Linked DNA regions of Homo sapiens: regions 1, 2 and 4 are each linked to region 3. Evidence: promoter capture Hi-C in human tissues and cell types (Jung and others, 2019). All regions are on one chromosome and are shown on one strand. Each heading gives the region's core, a stretch centred on a gene start or on the middle of the fragment in contact. The rest is flanking DNA. Distances are from core to core; before and after follow the strand shown.

Evidence for each region. The method cuts DNA at HindIII sites, captures the fragments that hold promoters and counts their contacts. A contact is called where the count stands out against the background at its distance.
Region 1: a fragment that was not itself captured here is called in contact with the fragment with the promoter of KIAA0930 in region 3 in 1 of the 25 tissues and cell types used here (H1 embryonic stem cells).
Region 2: the fragment with the promoter of FBLN1 here is called in contact with the fragment with the promoter of KIAA0930 in region 3 in 1 of the 25 tissues and cell types used here (neural progenitor cells).
Region 4: a fragment that was not itself captured here is called in contact with the fragment with the promoter of KIAA0930 in region 3 in 1 of the 25 tissues and cell types used here (H1 embryonic stem cells).

The regions. Positions count from the first base shown.
Region 1 is chr22:44,851,571-44,858,006 of GRCh38, reverse strand. The region is part of intron 13 of PRR5-ARHGAP8 (PRR5-ARHGAP8 readthrough); the gene reads right to left. All of the region lies in intron 10 of ARHGAP8 (Rho GTPase activating protein 8), which reads right to left. Among named protein-coding and RNA genes, the nearest start is that of ARHGAP8, 100 kb to the right of the region's middle. The HindIII fragment of the contact is 9,411 bases long and covers 1-6,436 here.
Region 2 is chr22:45,500,235-45,507,002 of GRCh38, reverse strand. It overlaps FBLN1 (fibulin 1), which reads right to left and starts at 4,120. Exons shown (of 17, transcript NM_006486.3): 1 at 3,939-4,120. The coding sequence starts at 4,017. It overlaps LOC105373066 (a long non-coding RNA gene), which reads left to right and starts at 6,016. Exons shown (of 3, transcript XR_938305.2): 1 at 6,016-6,207. RefSeq lists enhancers at 439-1,050, 1,051-1,664, 1,665-2,278, 2,279-2,892, 2,893-3,506. The HindIII fragment of the contact is 10,534 bases long and covers 1-6,671 here.
Region 3 is chr22:45,239,644-45,245,531 of GRCh38, reverse strand. KIAA0930 reads left to right here and starts at 4,638. Exons shown (of 10, transcript NM_001009880.2): 1 at 4,638-4,892. The coding sequence starts at 4,829. RefSeq lists silencers at 4,315-4,514, 4,545-4,604, 4,765-4,824, 4,975-5,064. The HindIII fragment of the contact is 11,413 bases long and covers 1-5,888 here.
Region 4 is chr22:44,957,034-44,964,280 of GRCh38, reverse strand. The region is part of intron 2 of PHF21B (PHD finger protein 21B); the gene reads left to right. Among named protein-coding and RNA genes, the nearest start is that of PHF21B, 49 kb to the left of the region's middle. RefSeq lists enhancers at 1-316, 317-939, 3,711-4,294, 7,213-7,247. The HindIII fragment of the contact is 9,378 bases long and covers 1-6,664 here.

The DNA of each region.
Region 1 (6,436 bases), core at 1,471-3,970, 390 kb after region 3:
CTGAACCTTATCTACGAATTATGGTCCCAAGTGGGTACTGGTGCAGGTCACCCTCAGCTCTGTGGTCCCTCTGAGAATACCTGCTGGCAAGTAGGCAGGACTGGTGAGCTGAGCGTCACAACCGCCAATGTCACTGAGCACTCCCTATGAGGGAGCAAGAGGTCAAGCATTTCAACCACCCCAGTGTAGAGAGAGGAGGAAAGAGAGCTCTGAGAGGTTAGGTGACTAGCCCGAGGTCACACAGCTTGCATGTGGGAGGCTGGGCCTCGAGGACTCTCTGACCTCCCCTTTCTCCTCTGGAGCAGGCCATGAGATCATCCTATGAGAGGCGCCTTCCCTATACCCAGAGGGAAGGGGCAAACTCATCTCTGAAGATGGCATGTCCCCCTAGTTTCCTGCCCCAGGCTCACTCCCCTGTCCGTCGCACTTCCCACGCCTCTCCACTCTTCTTCCAACCTGGCATCAGCACACTCAGTGGACTGGATCTCTGGGCCTTCGTTTCCTTACGAAGGTACCCATGTCATGTGCAACTTCTAGTAAATAAACTGGTATGTTTTTCTCTTGTGAATCTGTCTTTTGTTAGTCCAAGCAACAGGGCCCCCACCAAGGAACCTAAGATGGGGAGAAGGAAAAGATTTTGACCCTCCCTGCAGTTTCTAGTCATGGGGATGAGGTACCCTTGGCTGGAACACCTCACTTGGTCTGGGAGCTGCACAGAGAGCCAGGACCCCTGGTAGAGCCGGCCAAAAGAAAGAATTCTTACTCAAGACTGGTCGTGGTGGCTCACACCTATAATACCAGCACTTTCAGAGGCCGAGGTGGGTGAATCACCTGAGGTCAGGAGTTTGAGACCAGCCTGACCAACATGCAGAAACCCCATCTCTACTAAAAATACAAAATTAGCCGGGTGTGGTGGTGGGCACCTGTAATCCCAGCTACTTGGGAGGCTGAGGCAACAGAGTCATTTGAACCCGGGAGGCAGAGGTTGCAGTGAGCCGAGATTGCACCATTGCACTCCAGCCTTTGCGACAAGAGCAAAACTCCGTCTCAAAAAAAAAAAAAGAATTCTTACTCAAGTCAGCCTCCCAGATTTCTGTCTGCAGCGCGACTGTGTGAGGGTGGTCAAAGTCTCTTTGTTTTCTTCCTTTCTGAATTTGGACCAGCAGAGCCACATTCGGAAGAATGGGTTCTTTGGTTTTGACTTCAGCGCATCTGATCTCGAGGAGTCCTCGGTGATCTTCAGCCTCCCAGGAAGAGTCACTGTTTGCCTTTGTCTCTGTCTCTTGGGTCCTTTGTTGTGAAGAGGAGAATCATGGGATACGATTCTCCTTTCGTCTTGTTTTGTGTCCTGAGAACTTGCCTTTATGGCCAGTTTGGCTTCCAAATGCCTGGGGGAACAGCCAATGGTCAGGATGTAGCCCCAAGAATTTACAGGCCGGGCGCGGTGGCTCACGCCTTTAATCCCAGCACTTTGGAAGGCCGAGACGGATGGATCACCTGAGATCAGGAGTTCAAGACCAGCCTGGCCAACACGGTGAAACCCCGTCTCTACTAAAAATACAAAAATTAGCCAGGCGTGGTGGCGGGTGCCTGTAATCCCAGATACTTGGGAGCCTGAGGCAGGACAATCACTTGAACCCGGGAGGCAGAGGTTGTAGTGAGTAGAGAATCTCAGCCACTGCACTCTGGCCTGGGCAACAGAGTGAGACTTTGTCTCAAAAAAAAAAAAAAAAAAAAAAAAAAAAAAAAAAAGGGAATTTATAGCTGGCCAGACAGTAATGTGAGCTGCACTCTGATATGTTGGATGATGTTGCCTGTAAACCTCACATTGAAATGTAATCCCCAATGTGGGAGGTGGGGATGGGTGACGGGTGATTAAATCATGGGGACAGATTTCTCATAAATGGTTAGCACCATCTCTTTGGTGCTGTTCTCATGAGAGTGAGTGATTTCTCAAGAGATCTGGTTAAGTGTGTGGCATGACCTCACCCCATCTTGCTCCCACTCGCACTGCGTGAGACACCTGCTCCTCCTTTGCCCTCCGTCATAATTGAAAGCTTCCTGAGGCCTCCCTGGAAGCCAAGCAGATGCCAACACCGTGCTTCCTATAAAGCCTACAGAAACATGAGCCAATTAAACTTCTTTATAAATTACCCAGCCTCAGGTATTTCTTCATAGCAACACAGACTCGGCGACAGCTGACATCCTACCAGCCATCACCAGCTCTGAGGGCGCTTGTCTTTCTTTTGGCTATCTGTGGGGTAACTTTGGATCCTGGGGGACTCTGAGAACATCTCTTGTATCCATGGCCACAAAAAGTCTTATGGGTTTCGAGTTACATTGGATTAGGTACACCTTTGGTTAAAAACAACAAAACAAAACAAAACAAAAAACAAGGTTAAAAGGACTATTTGGAAACAAACTGGCCAAAGAAAAAAATCTTTAGGGCCTTCTCCTGAAATACTGATAACAACTTTCACCCTCAACAGGTAATCTTAACTTGTATGAAACTATGTATGAAAGTTATAAGATCTTGGTTTGTGGCCAGGCATAGTGGCTCATGCCTGTCATCCCAGCACTTTGGGAGGCTGAGGTGGGGAGATCACTTGAGCCCAGGAGTTTGAAACCAGCCTGGGCAACATGGTGAGACCCTGTCTTTACAAAAAAATATTTAAAAATTAGCTGGGTGTGGTAGTGCATGCCTCAGCTACTTGGGAGGCTGAGGTGGGAGGATTGCTTGAGCCCAGAGGTCAAGGAGAAGGAGACCCTGTCTTAAAAAAAAATTCTTTTTTTCTTTGCAGATCTATGTTATGTCTACGCATGTATGTTATGTATACGTGAAATTATTCTCCCTCTGATGGTATTACCAAGTTAATTTATAAAATCCCTTAAAGGAGTTCTATTCAAATTGGCTTAGAGATACATGAGCATTTATATAAAACATTTCTAAAGCTCTCAGAAATATAGAAACTAAGCCAAACATTCTTTTCAAGTTCTTGTGACTTGAGTAACTCTGACAAGATTAGTCTGATATTGTTAGTTTATTAAAAACAGCTGTATAGGTTGGGCACGGTGGCTCACGCCTGTAATCCCAGCACTTCGGGAGGCCAAGGCGGGCAGATCACCTGAGGTCAGGAGCTCAAGACAAGCCTGGCCAACATGGCAACATGGTGAAACCCCGTCTCTACAACAATACAAAAATCAGCCAGGCAAGATGGCCGGTGCCTGTAATCCCAGCTACTCGGGAGGCTGAGGTGGGAGAATTGCTTGAACCCAGGAGCCAGAGGTTGCAGTGAGCTGAGATGGTGCCATTGCACTCCAGCCTGGGCAACAGAGCGAGACTCCATCTCAACACAAAAACAAAACAAAAAAACCAGCTGCATCTTCTGAGTTACCCATATTAAGTATAATCCAAGCATACATCTTTATGTAGTTGGGCTTACTAGTGAAGTAGGGTTAAAAATGCATAACAAGGGCCTGGCATGGTGGCTCATGCCTATAATCCCAGCACTTTAGGAGGTTGAGGTGGGTGGATCATTTGAGGTCAGGAGTTCAAGACTAGCCTGGGCAACATGGTGAAGCCCGTCTCTACTAAAAATACAATTAGCTGGGTGTGGCGGCGCACACCTGTAATCCCAGCTACTCCGGAGGCTGAGGCAGATGGATCACTTGAGCCCAGGAGGCAGAAGTTGTAATGAGCCAAGATCAGGCCACTGCACTCCAACCTGGGCAACAAAGCAAGACTCCGTCTCAAAAAAAAAAAAAAAAAGATACAAGGGGAATTCCTTGAAATGACAACTAGCCTTATTCAGTGTTATGTATGACGTTACAGTGAGTAAGCAAGGCCGCTTCCTGGCAGGCCCAGGAAACTTAAAATATATTGAGAACCTTGAGAAGAGAGGAATTCTCTCAAATCTACAGATACTGCAGGCAAAGTCTGATGGTTTTTTTTTTTTTTTTTTTTTTTTTTTTTTTTTTTTTTGAGACAGAGTCTCGCTGTGTCCCAGGCTGGAGTGCAATGGTGAGATCTCAGCTCACTGCAACCTCTGCCTCCCGGGTTCAAGCGATCCTCCTGCCTCAGCCTCCCGAGTAGCTGGGATTACAGGTGCATGCCACCATGCCTGGCTAATTCTGTATTTTTAGTAGAGATGGGATTTCTCCATGTTGGTCAGACTGGTCTCAAACTCCCAACCTCAGGTGATCCACCCGCCTTGGTCTCCCAAAGTGCTAGGATTACAGGCGTGAACCACCGCAGCTGGCCCTGATGGCAAATTTTTAACTTGGCTTTCTAGCCTCAAGAGGCTTTTAAAAAGTGAATCTGAGATTCCTTATTAAAAGTTCTAGCAAGGTAGACTTAAAAAGAGCCGACATAGGTCAATTCCCATTCTTGCTGCCCTTATGTAAATAATCAGGCCAAATTCTAATGAAACCAGACTTATTTTGTAACTGAGAATCAAGAGAGAAGCAACGGTACAGAGAAATGATGCTCCCGTGGAAAACTACGGCGCACGCTTGCGGGTTCTCAGTTCCTCTCCTTTCCTCCAATATCTGGCTACGACGCTCCAAGCTAACATTTCCAGTTTTCTCCTACCCCCTGAGTTGGCATGACAAAGAACTAAAACCTGCCATTTCCCCAAAGCCCCAAAAGCTGACGCTGGAAGACTTGATATAAACTTCAGAGAAATCACAGCAGATGATGTACGGATAGTCCTTGTGCCTCCTACTCAGTCTGCTCAGAAAGTTCACCGGAACACCCAGTGCCATCACCAAAGACATCTAAATTGCAAACTATGGAATTCACTGGCCAGCTGCTGCCACTCTCTCTCTACCATGAAAGGATACTTCAAGCCAACATCTAGGAATCTTCTCAACTAAATGTTCTCCTGACTAAAAAAATGGAGTTTAGGCCGGACACGGTGGCTCATGCCTGTAATCCCAGCACTTTGGGAGGCTGAGGTGGGCGGATCACAAGGTCAGGAGATTGAGACCATCCTGGCTGACACAGTGAAATGCTGTCTCTACTAAAAATACAAAAAATTAGCCAGGCGTGGTGACACGGGCCTGTCGTCCCAGCTACTCGGCAGGCTGGGGCAGGAGAAAGGCTTGAACCTGGGAGGTGGAGGTTGCACTGAGCCGAGATCGTGCCACTGCACTCCAGCCTGAGTGAGAGTGAGACTTCACCTCAAAAACAAAACAAACAAACAAAAAACAAAATAAAAAAAATCCCCGGAACTTATGGTTTGTTCAAACCACTGAACTTCATGTTTGTTGACAAAGAAAGGCCCCTTATTAACAGGCTGACTTAGGTAGTCACCCTACTCCCACCTCCACCGCTACCTCCTGAATTGAGACACAACTCTTTCCCTGGAGTGACCTAGTCACAGCACTGAGAGAAGGATTCATGCAACATGAGACAATCTACCAACTCAGTTTCTGGACTGTAAAACTTCCTGGGGAAAGTTCCAGATGGGGGAATGCTGGGGTCCGGAACACTACTGTCCCAAATATGGAGCCTGGGCATGCTGAATATGTTATTGAGCTGAAGGAATCTAAGAAAGGCAGGTGTGGGAAGGGCTCTCTCTGACTCCCCCTACTTCTGTGTAGCAGATCATAAAACCTTCTAATGGGAGGGGGTCTTCCCTATGTCCAGAGGGTGCCTTATCTCTAAAGACGGCGGAATGACAAAAGGAATTGAAGCTCCATGACTTTCCACTCTTCACCAAACCTAGTATCAAAACATTCGGGCTGAACCATGTCTTCACCTTCCTTCACCTTCCTTCCTCCCTTCCTTTTTTTTTTTTTTTTTTTTTTTTTTTTGACAAAGTCTCACTCTGTCGCCCAGGCTGGAGTGCAGCAGTGCGATCTCGGCTCACTACAACCTCTGCCTCCTGGGTTCAAAGCAGTTCTCGTGCCTCAGCCTCCTGAGTAGCTAGGATTACAGGTGTCCACCACCACGCCCAGCTAATTTTTGTATTTTTAGTGGAGACGGGGTTTCACCATGTTGGCCAGGCTGATCTCAAACTCCTGACCTCAGGTGATCCACCCACCTTGGCTTCCCGAAGTGCTGAGTTTACAGGAGTGAGCCACTGCACCCGGCCCATTTTCTTTATTTCTTTTCTTTCTTGCTTGCTTTCCTCCCTCCCTCCCTCCATCATTCCTTCTGTTTTGGGGACATGGTCTTGCTCTTTTGTCCAGGCTGGAGTACAGTGGTGTGATCATGGCTCACTGTAGCCTCCAACTCCCAGGCTCAGGTGATCTCCCACCTCAGCCTCCTGAGCAGCTGGGACTACAGGCATACACTACCAAGCCCAGCCAATTTTTAAAATCTTTTGTAGAGATGGGGTCTCACTATGTTTCCCAGGCTGGACTCAAACTCTTGGACTCAAACTCTTGGACTCAAGTGATCTTTCTGCCTTGGCCTCCCAAAGTGCTGGGA
Region 2 (6,768 bases), core at 2,871-5,370, 260 kb before region 3:
GGAAACTGGAACCATATGGGGCCTACGAAAGGATTCATTCATCAAATTGTTATGATTTGCTATTCTGCAAAAGGAAAATCTTGTTGTATAAAATATGCTGGCAAAATAACTACATGCCCTCTTAGAACTGTTCTAATAAACTTCACCTGGAAGGCGGCCCTGACCAGGTGCCCAGTGCTCAGAGCCCGGGCTTAAAGTCTCACCAGGTCAGGGAAGCTGCTGGAGAAGTCTCTAGACAGCACAGTCTCCCCCAGTGGTGAGGAGGGGGTGGAACTGGAAGGAACTGGAAGTGGGTAGAAGGAGGGGGTTTCCCTGGAAGTCTCGTGTTTTCTCTTCCTTCCAGGTATTTGGCCCTGCCATTTCCCCTGCCAGGAACACCCTTTCCCCCATCCTCCCAGCCCTACCCACAGACTTAGCCACTGCCTTTTCCTCCTTAGGTTCCCAGTTTGCATGCCGCTTCCTCCGGGAAGTCTTCCCTGACTCTGCCAGTAGGGCTCAGTTCATTTTTCTGGATCTCCTAGTTGCATGAGGGGGAAAAACTGGGTCTCTCTCCTTTCCTGCCACATCCACAAGTTATAGAGCAGTGTCTGGCACTGAGCTGTCCCTTAGTGAATGAATGACTGAATGGCTAAGAACACCACCTTTCCTGACACGGGTTTGGCACTGACGACTACCAGTCCTATAGCCCCATGGGGCCTTCTGCTCAGCGCCTGGCTGGGAAATTCAGTAGTAGTAGAATGTGCAGAGGCATCTTGGGGAAAACAATTCTGGGGTATTGGCAGAATTGCGCTCTTCCCGCGCTCCCCTCACATCAAGCCTCATCTCCTCCAAGGAGCCGCCAGGGAGCCCCCAAGGGCTGCGAAGGCTCCTGGTGCCAACACTTCCTAGAGAAGGGGACAACAGGAATAATAGCTAACATTAATAACAGGGCTGCCAGCCGGCACGGTGGCTCACACCTGTAATTCCAGCACTTTGGGAGGCCGAGGTAGGTGGATCACCTGAGGTCAGGAGTTCGAGACTAGCCTGGCCAAGATGGTGAAACCCCATCTCTACTAAAAGTACAAAAATTAGCTGGGCGTGATGGGCGCCTGCAATCCCAGCTGCTGGGGAGGCTGAAGCAGGAGAATCGCTTCAACTCGGGAGGCGGAGGTTGCAGTGAGTCGAGATCATGCCATTGCACTCCAGCCTGGGCGACAAGAGCGAAACTCCGTCTCAAAAATAAAATAAAATAATAATAATAATAATATAGCTGCCATGGTAGACACTATCCTATGTTCTCTCTCTTAATCCTCAAGACAACCTAAGTAGGTTTTTGTTCCCTTCATTTTATAAATGAGAAAACCACCAAACCATCTCATGGCTTTTTCTGATGCAAACTGATTTCTAGTCTCACAAGGCCCGTGGAGCCCTCCAGGACCTGAAGATGAGTCAGCCGCGTGCCCCTACTCCTGCCCTACACACCTAACAGGGGTGGCAAATGCAGCCCTGAGTTGGGGGGCACTCAGCAGGGCCAGGAGCGGGGCGTGAGCCAGAGCTGTGGGTGCTGCAGGAGAGGCCCCAGCCCTGACCCCCATGGCACAGAGTCTCATCTTCATGCATTCAGTGCCCTGGCCCCCACCTCCTGACTGGGAAACTTCCAGGAGTGGCGGCACAGACCACACGTTTTCAAGCCAAGTCCTCCCTGGCCTTTGTTCTCCCTCCCAACTTTCTTTTAATCAGTCGGAAACGCTGCCCGGCTGCAGCCAGAGGCCAAGAAAGCCTTGGAGAAAACACAATCGTCTTTTCCTAACACCTCCTCCTCTCCACTCCCTCCCACCCAGCTCTCAGTAAAGCCCAACGGGACGGACAGACACAGGACAGACAGGCGGCTCCTCTCGGCCGTTTGGCAAGAAAGATCAGCGCCCTTCTCCATTTAAGCGGCCGTCGCCAAAGGAGTTTCTGCAGATCAGCTAACAGGCTCACCATCTGCGGCCCCACAGCTCTCTGAGAGCAGGGGCGGTGCCACTTGTGGCCTTACATACAGGGCTTCGGGGGCCTCACAGCTGCAGATAGGGGCCAGGCAGTCTTCAAAAGCCCCTTCCCAAACTGTACCAAATTAAACCTGTTGAAACTCAAAGAGACTTCTCCCCAAAAGAAACAAAAGGCCCACAGGACATCCAGCTGCTTTTATCGAAGTGTGCAATTAGGAGGCTTTTTTAAACCCTTCCAATTACAAACTTCTCTGTGGCTCAGCAGTGAGCCACACTGGGCCCGCAAGTCCTGGGGTGTTCATTCAGTCACACACACATAGGGAGAAATTGTTCGCAAACCGCAGACAGAAAAGAACAGTGAGAGGGAACGCAGAGACTCCGGGGCCAGGGAGAGTTTTACCACGCCTTCTCTCAGGCCCTCAGCTTCCTCATCGACACAATCGGGGCCTCTGAGGCTCCTTCCTTTTCTAACAGGAGTCTCGGATGTCCCACCCACCCATCACCCAGGGCCCCTCGGGGTTTTCCCTCCAGCTGGCAGCCACCCGGCCTGCTGCTTGCTGGAATGCCCTCTTCCCGCGCTCCCCTTACATCAAGCTCCATCTCTTCTAAAGAGCCTCCAGGGAGCCCCCAGGGGCTGCGAAGGCTCCTGGTGCCAACACTGAGCTCTGCGCCTCCCCACACCATCTCCAACCCCACGAGGTGCCCAGGCCGTGCCCAGCACCGCCTGAACAATCAGAGCTCCACAGGGCTCTGCTGCAGCCAGCCAGTCAAGAAAGCTCTGTAGAGCTCAGCTCCCAGCCTCCCCTCCCCCTCCAGCCCCCTTCAGCCCCCTTCCTGGAATCCCCCAGTGAGCATTAGTTGGGACAAGCGACCTTTTGACTAACAAAGGCGGTCACCAGAGGTTAAAAGGAACTCAACTAAACCAGGGATTAAGACTCGGATTCTGAGGGTGGTCTAGGGCACTCCCCTGGACCTGGGCCACTGGAGAAACAAAGACGCCAGGAGTGCCGGGCCTGGCTAGTGGCTCTGAGAAGCCACGGGTCAGCAGAGAGGTCACAGGTCATAGCTCTGCCGCCCAGCAGCTGCTCTGATCAGAGGACCTCGTGGCAGTCCCCCCAGGGACCAGGCCTTGAGGGTTAGAGGGGAGAAAAGCGCGGGCTGGGTGGGCACTGTCCCGGAGCTGTCAGTCCCAGAGTTGGGGCCTAAGGTCTGGGCCATCGATCAGATCTGCTCTTGGAAAACTCCATCCCCCTTGCCGTTGGTGGAAGTGACCAGTCCCCAGTCCCCGCTGAGCACCGAGCCCGGCAGAACCACTGCCTTGGGCCCTCTGTCCCGGGAGGGAGGCAGGGAGGAGGTGGCCAGGTCCGCATCCCCTCCATCCTCCCAGCTACGCCCCAAAAACCTCCAGGCTGCTCCCTGGCTTTCTCATTTCTTCCTCTCCAGCCCCTATCCCAGGACCGCTAGTGTCTCCTGGGGAAAAGACTGCTTCCCACCCTCCAGGCTCAAGTTTCACATCCGCAAGCTGGGTACAACAGCTCCTACCTGGGGGTGGAGGCGGGAAGCGGTGAGGAAAGATAGCCGAGGGCGCTTCCAGCGTCAAGTGCAAGGCGCCCTGGGCTCGGTAACCCCCAGCCAGCGTCCCCCAGCCCAGCTAGCGCCCCTGAACCCCCAGGGCCCGGGATGCGGCCCCCGGAGCCGGCTGGATTTGCTAGGACTGGGGTAGGACGGTGTGTTTGAGGGGTGGGGGAATCCGGTTTTGAAACAAGTCCCCAGGCCGGGGAGGAGATGAGGACCGGAGCTGGCCGTGGGGGAGGGGGGCGTCGCCGAGGCCTCGGCGCTGACAGTCCGGGGGCGCCGCGCAGGGCAACGCACGGACTCCGAGTCCCCGTGGTTCCGAAACTCGCAGGGAGCGCGAGGCCGAGGGGGTCGGGACCCTAAGCTGGGGCGGCGGACCCGGGACGCCCCTACCTCCGGCCGCCAGCAGCGCAAGGCCGCCGAGCAGCAGCAGCGGAAGCGGGACCCGGCGCGACGGCGCGGCGCGCTCCATGGGCGGCGGGCGACGGGCGGTGGGCGGCGGCGGACAAAGGCGCGGGCGCGGTCCTGGGGCAGCGGCGCGGGCTCCACGCTCCGGCCGAGCCTCGGCAGCCAACGCTGGGCCAGGGCCGCGCCGTTCAATTATCCCGCCCGGGAGGAGGGCGCGGCGGAGGCGGGGCCGCGGGTCTCCTGGTCCTCCCTCCCCGGCGCCCCCTGCCGGGACCCTCCCTCCCCGGACCCCGGCTGCGAGGGGCGCGCGCCCACGGCTGGGGGCGAGGGCCTGGATCCCAGACTTCCCCGGAGGGGGCACAGAGGGGGCGCCTTCGGGCCGGATGCCCCCAGTCCTATCCCCCAACACTCCGTGAAACCCGATCCCCTCCTCCCCCCACCCCCTCTCGAGGGGAGGGCTCGGGATCAAAGGTTATCCCCGCCCGACTCCGCGCGGAGGAGCGGGGACCCGGGCCTGCAGTCGGAGGCCCGGCTGCTGGGGGGCACTGGGGCAGGCCTTACCGCCAACCCCGCACCCTCGGCCGGGAGGCTGCAGGTCGGTGGCTAACCCCAGGCGTGTCCCGGGATGGGACCCGACTCTGCCCTCAGAGACAGGGACAGTCGGGCCAGGCCAACAAACAACCAAAATCCCAACGTGTGCTGGGCTCACCCGGGACACCAGGGCCGGAGGGAGAGACCCGGGAAGTCACCGAGGCTGCAGGGGAGGCAGCTTTGGCGCTGGGCCTGCGGGAGCCTCTTGTATAGGAATTCATAGCTACCGGGGTTACTGAGGATGAGTTAGGCTTTGGAACCACAAGTAGATTTATTTTCCAAAGAAGAAGAATAAAATGGTGCAGGTGAAGATGCGGAGGAACTGGATGAGACGCATAGGAACGCCACTGGGCAGCTCAAAGCGGTGTTCCTGTGAGTTCACCATGGACCCCTTGAGCCACCGACGCCCCGCCCAGCCTTACACTCAGCAGAAACGCATACAACATGTGCTCCAAAAGACAGAAAGACATGTAGCCGCACATTCATAATTCCTCCAATTGGGAAGCCTAGCGTCATCAAGGCAGATGAATATCGTGGAGTATTCGGGCTTAGGAGCACGACAAACGGAACAGGAGTGAATGATCCGCAACTCACATAACGGGTAAATCTCACAGACGTAAGTCAGAGTAATAGAGTCAGCCACAAAGGAACACTCGCTGCATGATTCCATTTACATAAAAGGCAAGAACAGGCCGGTGGCGGTGGCTCACACCTGTAATCCCAGCACTTTGGGAGGATGAAGTGGGCGGATTGCCTGAGGTCAGGAGTTCGAAACCAGCCTGGCCAACATGGTGAAACCCTGTCTCTACTAAAAATAAAAATAAAAATAAATTAGCCAGGCATGGTGGTGCACACCTGTAGTCCCAGCTACTCGGGAGGCTGAGGCAGGAGAATCGCCTGAACCCGGGAGACGGAGGTTGCAGTGAGCCGAGATCTCACCACTGCACTCCAGCCTGGGCGGCGGAGTGAGACTCCGTCTCAAAAAAAAAAAAAAAAAAAAAAAAAGGCAAGAACAGTTCAGAGGTCAGGAGAGTGGTGATCCTGGAGTGGGAGCGTGCTGGGCTTTCGGGGGCTGGTTAGGTTCAGCTTTCTTACTCTGGGTATTGGTTACAAGGTTGGGCTCAGTTTGTGAGAATTTATTGAGCTGTTCATTTATGGTACGTGCCCTTTTCTGAATACATGTTGTTTCTTTCTGTTTTTTTGAGATGGTGTTTTGCTTTTGTTGCCCAGGCTGGAGTGCAGTGGCGCAATCTCAGCCCACTGCAACCTCCACCTCCCGGGTTCAAGCGATTCTCCTGCCTCAGCCTCCTGAGTAGCTGGGACTACAGGCATGCACCACCACGCCTGGCAAATTTTGTATTTTTAGTAGAGACGGGGTTTCTCCGTGTTGGTCAGGCTGGTCTTGAACTCCCGACATCAGGTGATCCACCCGCCTTGTCCTCCCAAAGTGCTGAGATTACAGGCGTGAGTCACCGTGCCCGGTCACATGTTAAATTTTAAAATGAAAAACAAAAGGACAAGAACTCATCTCCCCACAGGGTGTCTTATAAGTTTGAAGTTTGCAGAGAGCCCAGGAAAGCTTACCAAGGGGACCAGCATGCTCACGCCTCTGAGGTTAAGGAGGCCCCTCAGGAAGAGGTGACATGCGACTGGCCAGTGAAAGGTGAGCAGAGGTGGGAAGGGTTTCCTTGGTGGTGCCAGCTTTCCTGATGTCTCTGCAAAAGTTTGGAGGCACCAGAGATCCTGGTCCGTTTTGACTTTGGATGGGGTGGGGTGCGGAAACAGCACATCAGCAGATGGCCCGAGGGAGGCATTTCTGAGTTGGAACAGGTTGGGAACTCATTACTACTTTGGTATTAACTTAATTCGTTTAAGCCATCGGAGAATGGGGTGCCCTGGAAGGAGTCTAGATGACTAAGGGAAGGTGGTGGAGGGCGAAGGGGGAACCAGGGGACCTGGGGGATTCAGAAAGAAGACGTAGAAACAGGCAGAGGGGTAGAAGGAAACCAGGAGAAGGCAATATCCAAGAAGGAATCAAAAAGTGATTCTGGGCAGGGCGTGGTGGCTCATGCCTGTAATCCCAACACTATGGGAGGCCGAGGTGGGTGGATCACTTGAGGTCAGGGGTTCGAGACCAACCTGGCCAATATGATGAAACCCCATCTCCACTAAAAATACAAAAATTAGCTGGGCATCGTGGTGCATGCCTGTAGTCCCAGCTACT
Region 3 (5,888 bases), core at 3,389-5,888:
AAAAACAAACAAACAAACAAACAAAACAACAAAAAAACACTGTCTGGCTCTTTGAATAAGATCAGCCCCAAGCATTTGGAGATAAAAATGTGTGCTGTCGGACACCGCTGTTACAATAGTGTAGAGGGATGGCATTAGGCAAACCCCGGGCAGGAACTCTGAAAAATGAAGCAAGACTGACCTATTAAAGCAATTGGATTGTGGTTGTTTTTTCTTTCTGCTAAACTTTGCTTGATTGTTGTTCTAAGTGTTTGCAAAATAAACCTCAGGGATAGAAGCGCTTAGGTGGAGAGCTGACACAATGCCCACATCTCAGGCTTGCCCACGTATTGGTATCACTGCTGTAATAATTACTACAACGTTATTGCCTTAACACATTTCCAGTTCTGTAGGTTAGAAGTTCAACTGAGGTCTTGCTGAGCTAAAGTCAAGGTGCAGGCAGGGCTGTGTCATATCTGGGGGCAACTGTAGGAGAATCTGTTTCCTTGCCTCTTCCAGCTTCCGGAAGCTGCCTGTATGCCTTGTCTTGTGGCCCCTTCCTCCCTCTTCAGTGCCAGCAACATTGCATTTACCTGACCATTCTTGTGTTGTCACATCTCTTTTTGACCACAGCCAGGAAATGTTCCCCGATTTTAAGAATTTATGTGATGAGATTGGGCCCACTTGGATAACCCAGGATAGTCTCCCTATCTCAGTGTCTGTACTCTTAGGCCCCATGTGGCAGCTCATGCCTGTAATCCCGGCACTTTGGGAGCCCGAGGTGGGCAGATCACTTGAGGTCGGGAGTTCGAGACCAGCCTGGCCAACATGGTGAAACCCTGTCTCTACCAAAAAATACAAAAAATAGCCGGGTGTGGTGGCACACACCCTTAGTCCCAGCTACTCAGGAGGTTGAGGTGGGAGGATGGATTGAGCTGGGGAGGTGGAGGTTGCAGTGAGCTAAGATCGTGCCACTGCACTCCAGCCTGGGCAACTGAGTGAGACCCTGTCTCGAAAACAAACAAACAAAAAATCACGTCAGCAAAGTCCATTTTGCCAGGTAAGGCAACATATTCACAGGAATTAGCACAGGAATTAGGGTGTGGGCATTTTGGGGCCATTATTCTGCCTATATACTTTCAATTCTATTTTATATTCTGAATATTTGTATACAGAAAAGTGCATAAATAATTACAAAATGCCAGCTTTATATATATATTACATACATATATTACATATATAACATATATATTATATATATTACATATATATATGTTATATATACATATATATATATTTTTTTTTTGAGACCAGGTCTCACTCTGTTGCCTAGGCTGGAGTGCAGCAGTGTGATCGCGGCTCACTGCAGCCTTGACTTCCCCGCCTCAAGCAATCCTCCCACCTCAGCCTCCTGAGTAGCTGTGACCACAGACGTGTGTCATCACACCTGGCTAATTTTTTTTTTTTTGTAAAGATGAGGTCTTGCTATGTTGGCCAGGCTGGTCTCAAACTCCTGGGCCTAAGCCAGCCTCCTGCCTGCCTTGGCCTCCCAAAGTGCTGTGGTTACAGGTTTGAACCACAGCACACAGCCTTTTGATTTTCTAACTTTTTTTTTTTTTTGAGATGGAGTCTCGCTCTGTTGCCCAGGTTGGAGTGTAGTGGCACAATCTCGGCTCACTGCAACCTCTGCCTCCCAGGTTCGAGCGATTCTCCTGCGTCAGCCTCCAGAATAGCTGGGACTACAGGTGTGTGCCATTACGCCCAGCTAATTTTTGTATTTTTAGTAGAGATGGGGTTTCGCCAGGTTGGCCAGGCTGGTCTCGAACTCCCGACCTCAGGTGATCTGCCCGCCTTGGCCCCCCAAAGTGCTGGGATTACAGGCGTGAGCCACCATGCCCAGCTGTGCAGCCTTTTAATTTTCATAAACTGACCACACCCGTGTAACCAGCCCCCAGATCAAGAAACAGAACATGCTCTGTAGCCCCAGAAGTCCTGCTCCTGCCCTCTTCCCATGCACAGTGTGATTTAGCATTTGTTGACATTAGAAAATTCTGTGTATATGTGAGGTCAGGAGTTCGAGACCAGCCTGACCAACATGGAGAAACCCCATCTCCATGAAATTAGCCGGGCGTGGTGGCACATGCCTGTAATCCCAGCTACTTGGGAGGCTGAGGCAAGAGAATTGCTTGAACCTGGGAGGTGGAGGTTGCGGTGAGGCGAGATCGCGACATTGTACTCCAGCCTGGGCAACAAGAGCAAAACTCCGCCTCAAAAAAAAAAAAAAAAAAAAAGAAAGAAAGAAAATTCTGTGTATAGGTAATACCTGGAGTATTATTGAAATACAAAGGAGAGAGCCCAAGCGATGTTTGTTTACTCATTCATTCAACAGATATTTTTCTGGCACCAGTCCTGGGCTGGGTGCCACGGGAAGTGGGATGAATTGGTTCAATGCTGGTCATATGACACAGAATACACGGAGGCAACTGTGTGCAGGAGGGTGGGGTGGGGAAAGGGGGTTTGTGAAGCAAATAAGAACACAATGCATTGGCCAAGCGTAACCAGGCAATGTGGGTCCCAAAGGCAACTACAGTTGCGGAGCAGAAAGGATTTCAGGCCAAGGGAACACTGTGGGCAAACGCATGGCAGTGGGAACAGGCAGGGGGTGCTGTGGGGTTTGGGGAGGCAAAGAGGGATGTGACTATTGGACTTGACAGCCTTGGAGCACTCGCTCATGCTGTCTGATCCACCATCCCCAGTTCTCACGTCCACCAGCCCAAACCCCAGCTCTCCAGACGCAGAACCAGAGGCCTCAGCCCTCATGCCAGTGTCCTCACTTTACAGACAGGGATGCAGGCCCACTGGAGAAGAGAAATACACGTGAGGCTGGTCGCGCACTTCCTTCATTCCCTCACTGCTCACCTTTCTACAGAGCCCTCCTGGGCCTGGCACTGGGGACACAGAGGGGTCAGATGTGGCTCTGCTCTGAAGAGTTCAGGGGCCAGTGGCACAAAACTGGGGCAGAGGCCTGAAGCAGGATCCAGATCCCATCTCCCTTCTGGGGCTCTGCCCAACCCCACGGCTCCTTCCTGCTGTGCCTCCCAGGAAGACCCCTGCGTCCCCATCAGACCTCTCCATCATTCTTCGTTTATGCAGCCTACATTTTTTTTTCTTTTCTTTTCTTTTTTTTTGGGGGGGGACAGGGTCTTGCTCTGTCTCCCAGCTTGGAGTGCAGTGGCGGGATCTCGGCTCACTGCAGCCTCCGCCTCCCAGGTTCAAGCAATTCTCCTGCCTCAGCCTCCAGAGTAGCTGGGATTACAAATGTGTGCTACCATGCCCGGCTAATTTTTGTATTTTTAGTAGAGATGGGGTTTCACCATTTTAGCCAGGCTGTTCTGGAACTCCTAACCTCAGGCAATCCACCTACCTCGGCCTCCCAAAGTGTTGGGATTACAGGCATGAGCCACTGTGCCCAGCCTGCAGCCCATATCTATTTATTGGGCATCTAATGTGTGCCAGGCAATGTTCTGGGTACTGAGACAACAGCTGTGTAGTAGACAGGCCCCTCCCTCGGTAGAGAAGAGAACAAGTGAACCCATAGGTATCCAATGTGTCGGGAGGAGGTAAGTGTCACCCTGTGAAGGAGAAACAGACTAAGGGAAGAGAGAGGGAGGGAAGGCGGTCAGGGGAGTTTCTTTGAGGATGTGACACTCGGGACACAAAGGAAGCAAGTTACACAGGAATGGGGAGAAGAGGACTCCAGACAGGGGAAAGGGGGACCTTGATGGGTCTGGGGTCCACACACAGGCTGTGAATGCAGGGAGTGATGTAGATTTAGCTTTGGAGAGACCTGGAAATCAATGCTGGTCTCTCCATCTCCCCCTGTTCTTGGAAATGGACCACCAGGCGTGAGGTTTGGGGAGGCCACTGGCTGCTTCTCCGGTGTCTTCCTGTATCAGCCACAACTAGCACACGGAGGGATGCTGGCCAGACCTGGCTTCATCAGGATGACACGCCCAGCTAACCTCATACCTCCCCCTTCATCAACACTCCCCCATGTTGGGGAGGCAAGGCAGGGAAAGGTCCCCCATGGTGCAGCTGAGGAAATGGAGGCGCAACACTCTGCACTGTGCCAGGTGCAGAGGAGGGGGGCCGGAAGGGCTTTGCCACGGTGTCCCCCAGGAGACCACCTTCTGGGAGCAGGTGACCTCTTGAGGGGTTCTGCGGAGGAAGTTCCCAGAAGTCAGCCGAGGGGACTTGGTGGAGGTGGCAACGCACAGGGCGGGTGACAAAGTACACATCCCGTGGGGTAGCAGCGGGGGAGGGGAGAGGTGCCCTGAAGGGGCGGCGGGAGGGGCTCAGAGGCGTGATCCCGTTGGTGGGGCGTTTAGGACCTTGGGTGGAGGCGGGACCCCGCGAGCGGTTTGAGGGAGGCTGTCCTGGGCATCCGAAGATTGGCGGAGACTGGCCGTTTGGAAGTGGGCGGGGCAAGGGAGGTCAGGGGGCGGGGCCAGGGAGCCGGGGTGGGTCCGGGCCGTTCAGAGGCGGGGCGGGAGGGGACAGGGGCGGGGCCGGGGCGGGGAAGGGGCGGGGCCGGACCGGGGCCGGGCCGGGCCGGGGCGGGGCGAGCGGAGCCGGGGGCGCGCGGGCGGCGGCGGCGCGGAGGTGCGCTCGCCGGTGCTGTGTTTGGCGGGTGGTGGCGGCGGCGGCGGCGACGGCGACGCGCACAGAGGCGGACTGTGGCTTCCTTGGTGCTCGCGGCGGGCTGCGGGCCGGGCCGCCCGCCCTCCCCGCCGCCGCCGCCCCCGAGCCTGCGGGCGGCGCCGAGGCCGAGGAGCGCTCGCTGCAGCACATGCTGCGTGCCATAGCGGAGGAGCGCGGCCGTCTTAGCCTGCGCCGCGAGGTCTGCGGCCTCGGTGAGTGGGACCCGGGGGCGAGGCCGGGCCGGGAGAGGTGAGCGTCTCCGGGGCCGCCTCTGCGCGTCCGTGTTTCTGTGCGCCCCGCGCATCTCTGTCTCTGCGCGGGTGTCGTGGTCTCTGGGTCTGCCTGGGTACCCTGTCTTCCTCCATGGCCCCCCCCCCACCGTCCCTGCATCTGGGTCTGTCTCTGCTTTCCGTCCGACGAGCGCCCCGCACCCCTGTGCCCGGGTCTCATTCGGCGTCTCCCCCTGTCAGTCCGTCCGGGTGTCTGTCTCATCTTCCTCCTTCTTCTTCGTGTCTCTGCGGGTCTTCTTCCTTCTCCAGGAAGCCCGCCCCGGGCCCTCAGCACCGCGGTAGGGAGTGTGGGCGTGGGATCTGGGTACACCCTTAGCCCAGCGCGGCAGGGTCGGGCCCTCGTTGGGCTCTGGGTGGACCTCGCTGCGAGCGTGCCCTGGCCACTGTCTCCTGCTACCCGAAGCCTTTGTCTTTCCGCACCCACCGGCCCCTCTCATCCCTTAGCTGTATCCAGGGACCTGTTGGGCAATGGCCCCCCGAACCCGCCCGCTTGGCTGAGGGGCAGGGCCTGCTGCCTCTCGGTGTGATTCTGGGCTTTAAGTCATGGATCTGCTGGGGGGCGTGGGATGGGGGTGCCTCGTATTGTTTGGAAGGGCCTGGGACTGCAGGTGTGGGTGGGGTCTCCCAGCCAGTGAGGTAATCCATTACTGATGGATCATGCCCAGACTGAAGCCCAGGAGAAGCCCCCTCTTTTGTCGTCTCAGGTTCGTCATTTTCTCCATGGAAAAGACCCCTCCCTCCTCCGTGCAGGGAATGACTTCATACCACATTGTCAGCCACCCCCCACCCCACCCCCAGGCTAGGCTGGGGATTTCTGAGGGGGTGACAGCATTGCTGAGTACGGAATGTCAGCCTTCCAGATTCACCCCTTCATTCACCGTTGGGGAAACTGAGTCCCAGAGAACAAGTGCATCCCCC
Region 4 (7,247 bases), core at 726-3,225, 280 kb after region 3:
GGTCTGTGTTTAGGGAAGATAATGGTTAAACAGTGATGCAGGGAAGACAGAGGGTTGAGGCCTCGGTGAATATTAATATTAACGAGTATATTGAATCCTCTGTGTTTGTCACTGTCTAGTGGCAGCACATACGTACAGATATTCATCTGTTTCATCTTCCCCACAGCCCCAGGAAACACATGCTCTTGCTCTTGTTGGGTCCACTCCTGTGAGAAGGAAGCCGAGGCTTCCAGCAACCCTCCCAACACACAGCTGGACGGGGCCAAGGTCAGGGCTGGAACACAGCTGGCTGGCCCTGGAGCCAGTGCCCTTCCAAAGATGACCCTGAGTGCCCTCTGTGTGCCAGGCTTTGATTCATTACCGGGAAGTCAATGATTTGAGTCAAAGGCAGGTGACAGGTGTGTCCACAAAATTAAGAAATGTCTTGTGTGGCTGGCCCTTGGGGTCCCCCACATGGAGAGAGAAGCTTTGAGCAGAGGTGTGGGGTGGGCCTGCTTCTCCGAACTTTGGTGGTGTTTGTCCTTCAGATGTCACCTGACTCTGCTGTGGGCTGAGTTCAGGTGCTGGGCCTGGCATGGGACTCAGCCCCACATGGCCCCTGGGAGCGTACAGCCAGGGAAGGCCTCGGGTTCTCTGAGTTAAAACAAAGTCTGCGGTGAGTGCCTGGAGGCTGCCTTGCTGTTTACAAAGCATCTTCTTATCCGTTCTCTTCTTTCGTCCTTCAGCCCCACTTCTTGCTGGGGATGATGATGACCATGACGAGGGTTGCTGAGAAAGGATTGGAGAAACCATGGGTCACGTCATCTTAGGGCTCTCAGACCCTGCTTGATAGAAGTGAGGGCTTCATAGAAGTCACTTTATTTCTAGGTAAAAAAACAAAATCCTTAACAGTGAGGGCTGATCCACCCTCAGTACCCTCAAAACACAGTTCAGCATGGTGGGTCATCCTCCCTAACCAGTGTGCTGTCTTGCGCTCGGGGCCGCTGCAGTGGTGTGAGCGTGGCGGGTCGCCCTCCGTCACCAGTGTGCTGTCTTGCCCTCGGGGCTGCTGCAGTGATGTGAGCGTGGCTGCCAGGCCAGGCCTACCATGAGGTTTCCCCTCTGTTCCCAGAAGGGAGAGCAGGGAGTCCATGTCACAGCTGCAGAGTGTCCTTGTGAGAAGCTGAGATCTTGATTCTGTTACGAGGAGGGATCTGGGGGGCAGCCCCTGTGCCCCCAGAGAGCTCAGCTTCCTCATTTCCAGATGGCAATGTCTGCCCAGGGTTGTTGAAAGAACCGGATGAGCCAGTACCTTGCAAACCATGAAGTAATGCAAAGGTAGAACGAGTCATGATTTGTTTTATCATCATGGTGCTTGGAAGAGAAAACTGTACTGCGTGGCTCTATTCCTGGTGCTATGAGGTGTTCTTGTAGGGCCTCTAAATGCATCGGGGCTGAGTCTTCTGGCCACATCGCAAGTAAAGCACGCCCCCACCCTGCCCCAGCCTCCATCCCCCACCGTTCCGTGAGGCACCTGCAGGCAGCTCTTCATCCAGGCATGTGTCCATATAGTACCTGGTGTTCCCTCTGAGCAAGACGCTGGGTTATATGGGACCCAGCTTGTATTTGTCAGAGTTCCCCAGAGAAATACAGCCAGTAGGATGTGTGGTGTACAGATGGTCCCTGACTGATGATGGTTTCACTTACTACGCTTTTGTGACTCTATCATGGTGCAAAAGCAATACACGTTCAGTAGAAAACATACTTCGAATTTTGATCTTTTCCCAGGCTAGCACTATTCCATGTGATACTCACTTGCAATGCTAGGTAGCAGCTGTGAGCTGCAGCTCCCATCAGCCGTGCCAATGTTAGGTGTTCTGAGCACACTAAGTTAGGCTGGGCTAGGCTATGATGTTCAGCAGGCCAGGTGTGTTAAATGTATTTTCAACTTAGGATATTTTCAACTTACAGTGACTTTATTGGGATGTAACTTCATCGTAAGTTGAGGCACATCTACAGATCATTAAAAAGTTATGTGAGGCTGCAGAGAAAAGGGAATGCTTATACACTCTTGGTGGGAATGTAAATTAGTTCAGCCACCATGGAAGGCAGTTTGGAGATTTCTCAAAGAACTTAAAACAGAGCTATCATTCGACCCAGCAATCCCATTAACTGGGTATATATTGGAAAGAAAATACATCATTCTACCCAAAAGACACATGCACTTGTGTGTACATCTCAGCATTACTCACAATAGCAAAGACATGGAAACAACCTAACTGCCCATCAGTAGTGGATTGAATAAAGAAAATGTGGTACATATACACCATGGAATACTACACAGCCATAAAAAAAATAAAATAATGCCCTTTGCAACAACATGAATGCAGCTGGAGGTCATTATACTTATTTATTTATTTATTTATTTATTTATTTATTTATTTATTTATTTATTTTGAGACAGAGTCTCGCTCTGTCACCCAGGCTGGATTGCAGTGGTGCGCGCAACCTCGGCTCACTGCAACCTCTGCCATGCTGGTTCAAGCGATTTTCCTGTCTCTGCCTCTCGAATAGCTGGGATTACAGGGGTGCACCACCACGCCTGGCTTATTTTCATATTTTTAGTAGAGACTGGGTTTCACCATGTTGACCAGGCTGGTCTTGAACTCCTGACCTCAGGTGCTCTGCCCACGTAGGCCTCCCAAAGTGCTCGTATTATAGGCATGAGCCACCACGCCCAGCCTGTAGGCCATTATCCTAAGCAAATAGAGCAGGAACAGAAAACCAATTACCACGTTTTCACTTGGAAGTAAGAGCTAAACATTAGATTCACAGGGACATAAAGACGGCAACAGTGGATACTAGGGACTCCTAGAGCAGAGAGGGAAGGAGGGGAGCGAGGGTTGAAAACCTGTTGGGTACTGTGCTCACTACCTGGGTGACAGGATCAGTTGTACCCCATATCTGAGCATCACGAAGTATACCTATGTAACCTGCACCTGTACCCCCTGAATCTAAAATAAAAGTTGAAATTGTATAAAAAATCAGTCTGGGCACGGTGGCTCATGCCTGTAATCCCAGCACTTTGGGAGGCTGAGGCAGGTGGATCACGAGGTCAAGAGATTGAGACCATCCTGGCCAACCTGGTGAAACCCCATCTCTACTAAAAATACAAAAATGAGCCGGGTGTGGTGGCGCGTACCTGTAATCCCAGCTACTCGGGAGGCTGAGGCATGAGAATCGCTTGAACCAGGGAGTCAGAAGTTGCAGTGAGCCGAGATCGCGCCACTGCACTCCAGCCTGGGTGACAGAATGAGACTCCTTCTCAAAAAAAAAAAAAAAAAATCAACTCACGTGATTTTGAAGGGACAGATCCTCAAGTCCCAGGATCTGCAGTGGGCAAGCTGGAGACCCTGAAGAGTCGATGCTGTAAGTTCCAGTCCAAAAGGAGGCTGGAGACCTGAGAAAGGCTGATGCATCAGTTTGCGTCCAAAGGCAAGAAAACCCTGGTGTCCAGGCTGAGTGCAGGCAGACAGCAGGACTTCTCTTACTGAGACAGTTTGCTCTGTTCAGGCCTCCGGCTGGTTGGATGAGACCCTCATTCACTGGTGAGGGCCACCTGCTTTACTCAGGCCACTAATTCAGATGTGAGTCTCATCCAGAAACATCCTCACAGACACACCAAAGTAATGCTTGCCCAGATGTCTGTGTACCCCATGGTCCAGTCCAGTTGACACAGTGACTATCACACAGCTCTTGGGGAAGACAGACATGGGAAGAACCAGCAGCCCAGGTCACCCATGGCCCCTTAATATGGGTGCAGACAGCAGTGACTTCCAGCCAGTGGAGGGTTGGGCGACGACCTGGGGAGCAGGTGACCATAGTCGTTGAGGGACAGGAGTGGGGGGCTTTGCCTGGTGCTGCCGGACTGCAGTGTCGACCCAGAATTTTCTCATTTTTCGGGCAGTGAAGGAAAAAAGAGATAATTGTCTTGATGTCATCTGACACCGAACTCAGGTAGCTGTGGAGGGAAGGGGGCGTCTCTGCAGAGCCAAGACAACTGAAGATCAGCAGGAAATGGAAAAATGGATCCAGCCTTGGGTCCCGTGGCTTGTGGAGGCCTCAGCGTCCAGGGGTTTCCTGGGATGGTTGTCTTTTCAGGCGGATGTTTACTTAGCATCTACTGGGTGCCAGGCCTTGTGTGAAGCATTTCGTGTGCAGTGAGGAATGCTCAGGTTTCAGCCATTAGAGAGGGTTGCAGGACTAGAGACACGTCCGGTGCTGAGGTCACACAGCGGAGGGCCCGCTCTCTGGGGTGGAGACTGGCCCTGCTCAGAGCGCTTCCTGGAGGCGCTGCCCTGACTTCTCACAAGCTGGCCAGGCTTACTTTTGCTGCCTCACGTTTGGCTCAGCCCCTGCCCTTGCTGTTGCTCTGGTTGGGTCCTGTGCTTGCATCTCCTGAACTCCTGGGCTTCTTTCATAACTCTGGTCTCAACTGAAGCCATTTCATCTCCTGGGATATCTTCCCTCCTGTTCCCCTGGTGGTCATCTCTTTACTGTTTTCAGTGATCAGCTCCTCCATGAAGACTTTTCCCGTGGGTAGCACTGGCTCCCTCTCATTGATGCTTCTGCTGTGCCCAGCTCAGACATCCTCTGCAGCACCGGGACCACCTGGGTGCATCTTGAATGACCTGCCAGTCTTCCCCATCACTGGCTTCCTCTCCGTGGTAGGAGCAGAGACAGACTGGTCTCCAGGTCAGAGCCGGGGCAGCCAGGTGTGAATGAAACCTGCTGAGCACAAACACTTTTCTTGGGGCCTTGAGAGAGCACTTGGCTAGAACTGGTGTCTACTGTCCACTTGGACCAGTTAGAAAGGAGGAGGAAGGACCCAGGCAGGGGACAGACAGCAGGAGCAAAGGCCCACACAAGAGCAAGGCACAAAGAGGCCCAGAAATGTGATAAGTCCCGTAGTTAAGGCGTGAATCACAAAGTGGAGAGTATGAGAAGATGGGTCGGGGCAAAATGTCATCATTCTCTAGAAGACATTTGTTATTCAGCATCACCAACACACCAGGCCCTCCAGAAGGCATGCGAGCCTCGTCCTGAGATGGGAGCAGATCATCAGCAGTCTCAGGACATGCCAGGGGAGCTTCCAACAAGGAAGAGACCAAAACAGAAACCGGATCTGAGAGGGAGAGGAGGCCATGCAGGAAGCAGAAGAAGGCTTCCAAAACTGTCTCATCCTCCGAGAAATCAGGCAGTATACCATCTGAATCAGAACAGGCGCTCCAGCGGGGCCGGCCATGGAACCAGCAGGAGACATTGGAAATGTAGATTGCGCAGTTAAATGATCAAAGGAGGGGCCGGGTGCGGTGGCTCACACCTGTAACCCCAGCACTTTGGGAGGCCAAGGTGGGCAGATCACCAGAGGTCAGGAGTTCAAGACCAGCCTAGCCAACATGGTGAAACCCCGTCTCTACAAAATACAAAAACCCTGTCTCTACAAAATACAAAAATAAAAATAAAAAATTAGCCAGGTGTGGTGGCAGGCGCCTGTAATTCCAGCTACTCAAGAGGCTGAGGCAGGAGAGTCACTTGAACCCAGGAGGCGGAGGTTGCTGTGAGCCAAGATCATGCCACTGCACTCCAGCATGGGTGACAGAGTAAGACTCCATCTCAAAAAAAAAAAAAAAAAAAAAAAAATCAAAGGAAGGCTGGAAGATGAAGCTGAGGAGATCTCTCAAAGAGTAGAATAGGACGCTAATGGAATGGGACTAGGTGAGAGAAGTTGAGAAAATTGGAAAATCTCTAACTAAGGAGTTTCAGATAAAACAGGGGTATTGGCAGAGAGAACCATATGGATGCAATGTGCACATTCCTAATCGAAGGACACAGGCCTCCGGGTTGAGAAAGCTCTCGGAGTTCTCAGCACAACTAACAGGAAAAGGTCCACACTGCAGTGCACACCATGAAATTCCAGAGCACAGGGTTTCAGCAGACCCCGACTAGACCCTCACTGTGTAGGGAGAGAGTCAGGGAGGCAGCAGGCCCGGATGCCAGAAGCCAGCAGAGTCGTGCACTCAAAATGCCCAGGGATGGGGGCTGTCGTGGTGGCTCACACCTGTAATCCCAGCACTTTGGGAGGCCAAGGTGGGCAGATCACCTGAGGTCGGGAGTTCGAGACCAGCCTGACCAAATGGAGAAACCCCGTCTCTATTAAAAATACAAAAAGTTAGCCAGGCATGATAGCACATGCCTGTAATCCTAGCTACTCGGGAGGCAGAGGCAGGAGAATCGCTTGAACCTGGGAGGTGGAGGTTGTGGTGAGCCGAGATCGCGCCATTGCACTCCAGCCTGGGCAACAAGAGCGAAACTCCATCTCAAAAAAAAAAAAAAAATGTCCAGTGGTGATCAGGTCCAGCTAGAGTTCTGCTTTTAGACACACAAGGCCTGAACGGGTTTAGAATGCTTATTTCATGCGTCGCCTTTCTCAGAAAGATACTGGGTGAGGCATTCTACTGAAATAAAGGAATTAAGCCCAGAAAAACAGCAGATCTAAATTCAGGAGAGGGGGCCCCAGCAGCCTGGAGAGAAACCTATTTAGGTTAGCAACAGGGAACTGATGCCTGGTGTGTTTGCACAGGAAAGGGTTTTATAATTCTATCAGGGAACTTAGGAAAAATTAGCAGGAGGAACCCAGAACGCCAAACAAATGGGAACTCAAGGCAGGAGAAAAAAAGCAGCGGTAGAAGAAAGAGAGGGCTGACTATTGATTCTGTGCATACGTTATTTAAATACACATAAAATGGATTTGAGAACTCCCTCTGGAGGCAGCATGAGGACGGACAGTGGCAAGCCCCAGAGGAAGGCTGTGAGGGGCCCGCATGCCAGCCCTGTGCGGCAGCCCAGGTCTCTCTCACTCCTTCTACAGTCAGTTCAGGAATTTGCTTTGTACCTTCAGAGGGTTTTTCATGCAAAGGATCAGGGAAAAAACCGAAACAACTTTTTCCAGAAGAGCTAATTGTTGTAAAGTGCACCGTCCGGTGCCTGACCCTCTGAGGCTGGGTGAGCACTGTGCAACTGTGTTCTCAGCCTGGCTTTCAGAGACTGCAGTCCCCTGCAGAGGCTGTGGGTCCACAGCCAGGGAGGCCACAGGTACAGAAGAATGCGCAGGACGAGGCAGCTGTGAGCTCAGAGGGAGGAGGGAGGGGGCGGTGCTGAGGTGGAGGTGGCCATTGGACTGCCGTGTGGGCAGTGACCTCTGGGTA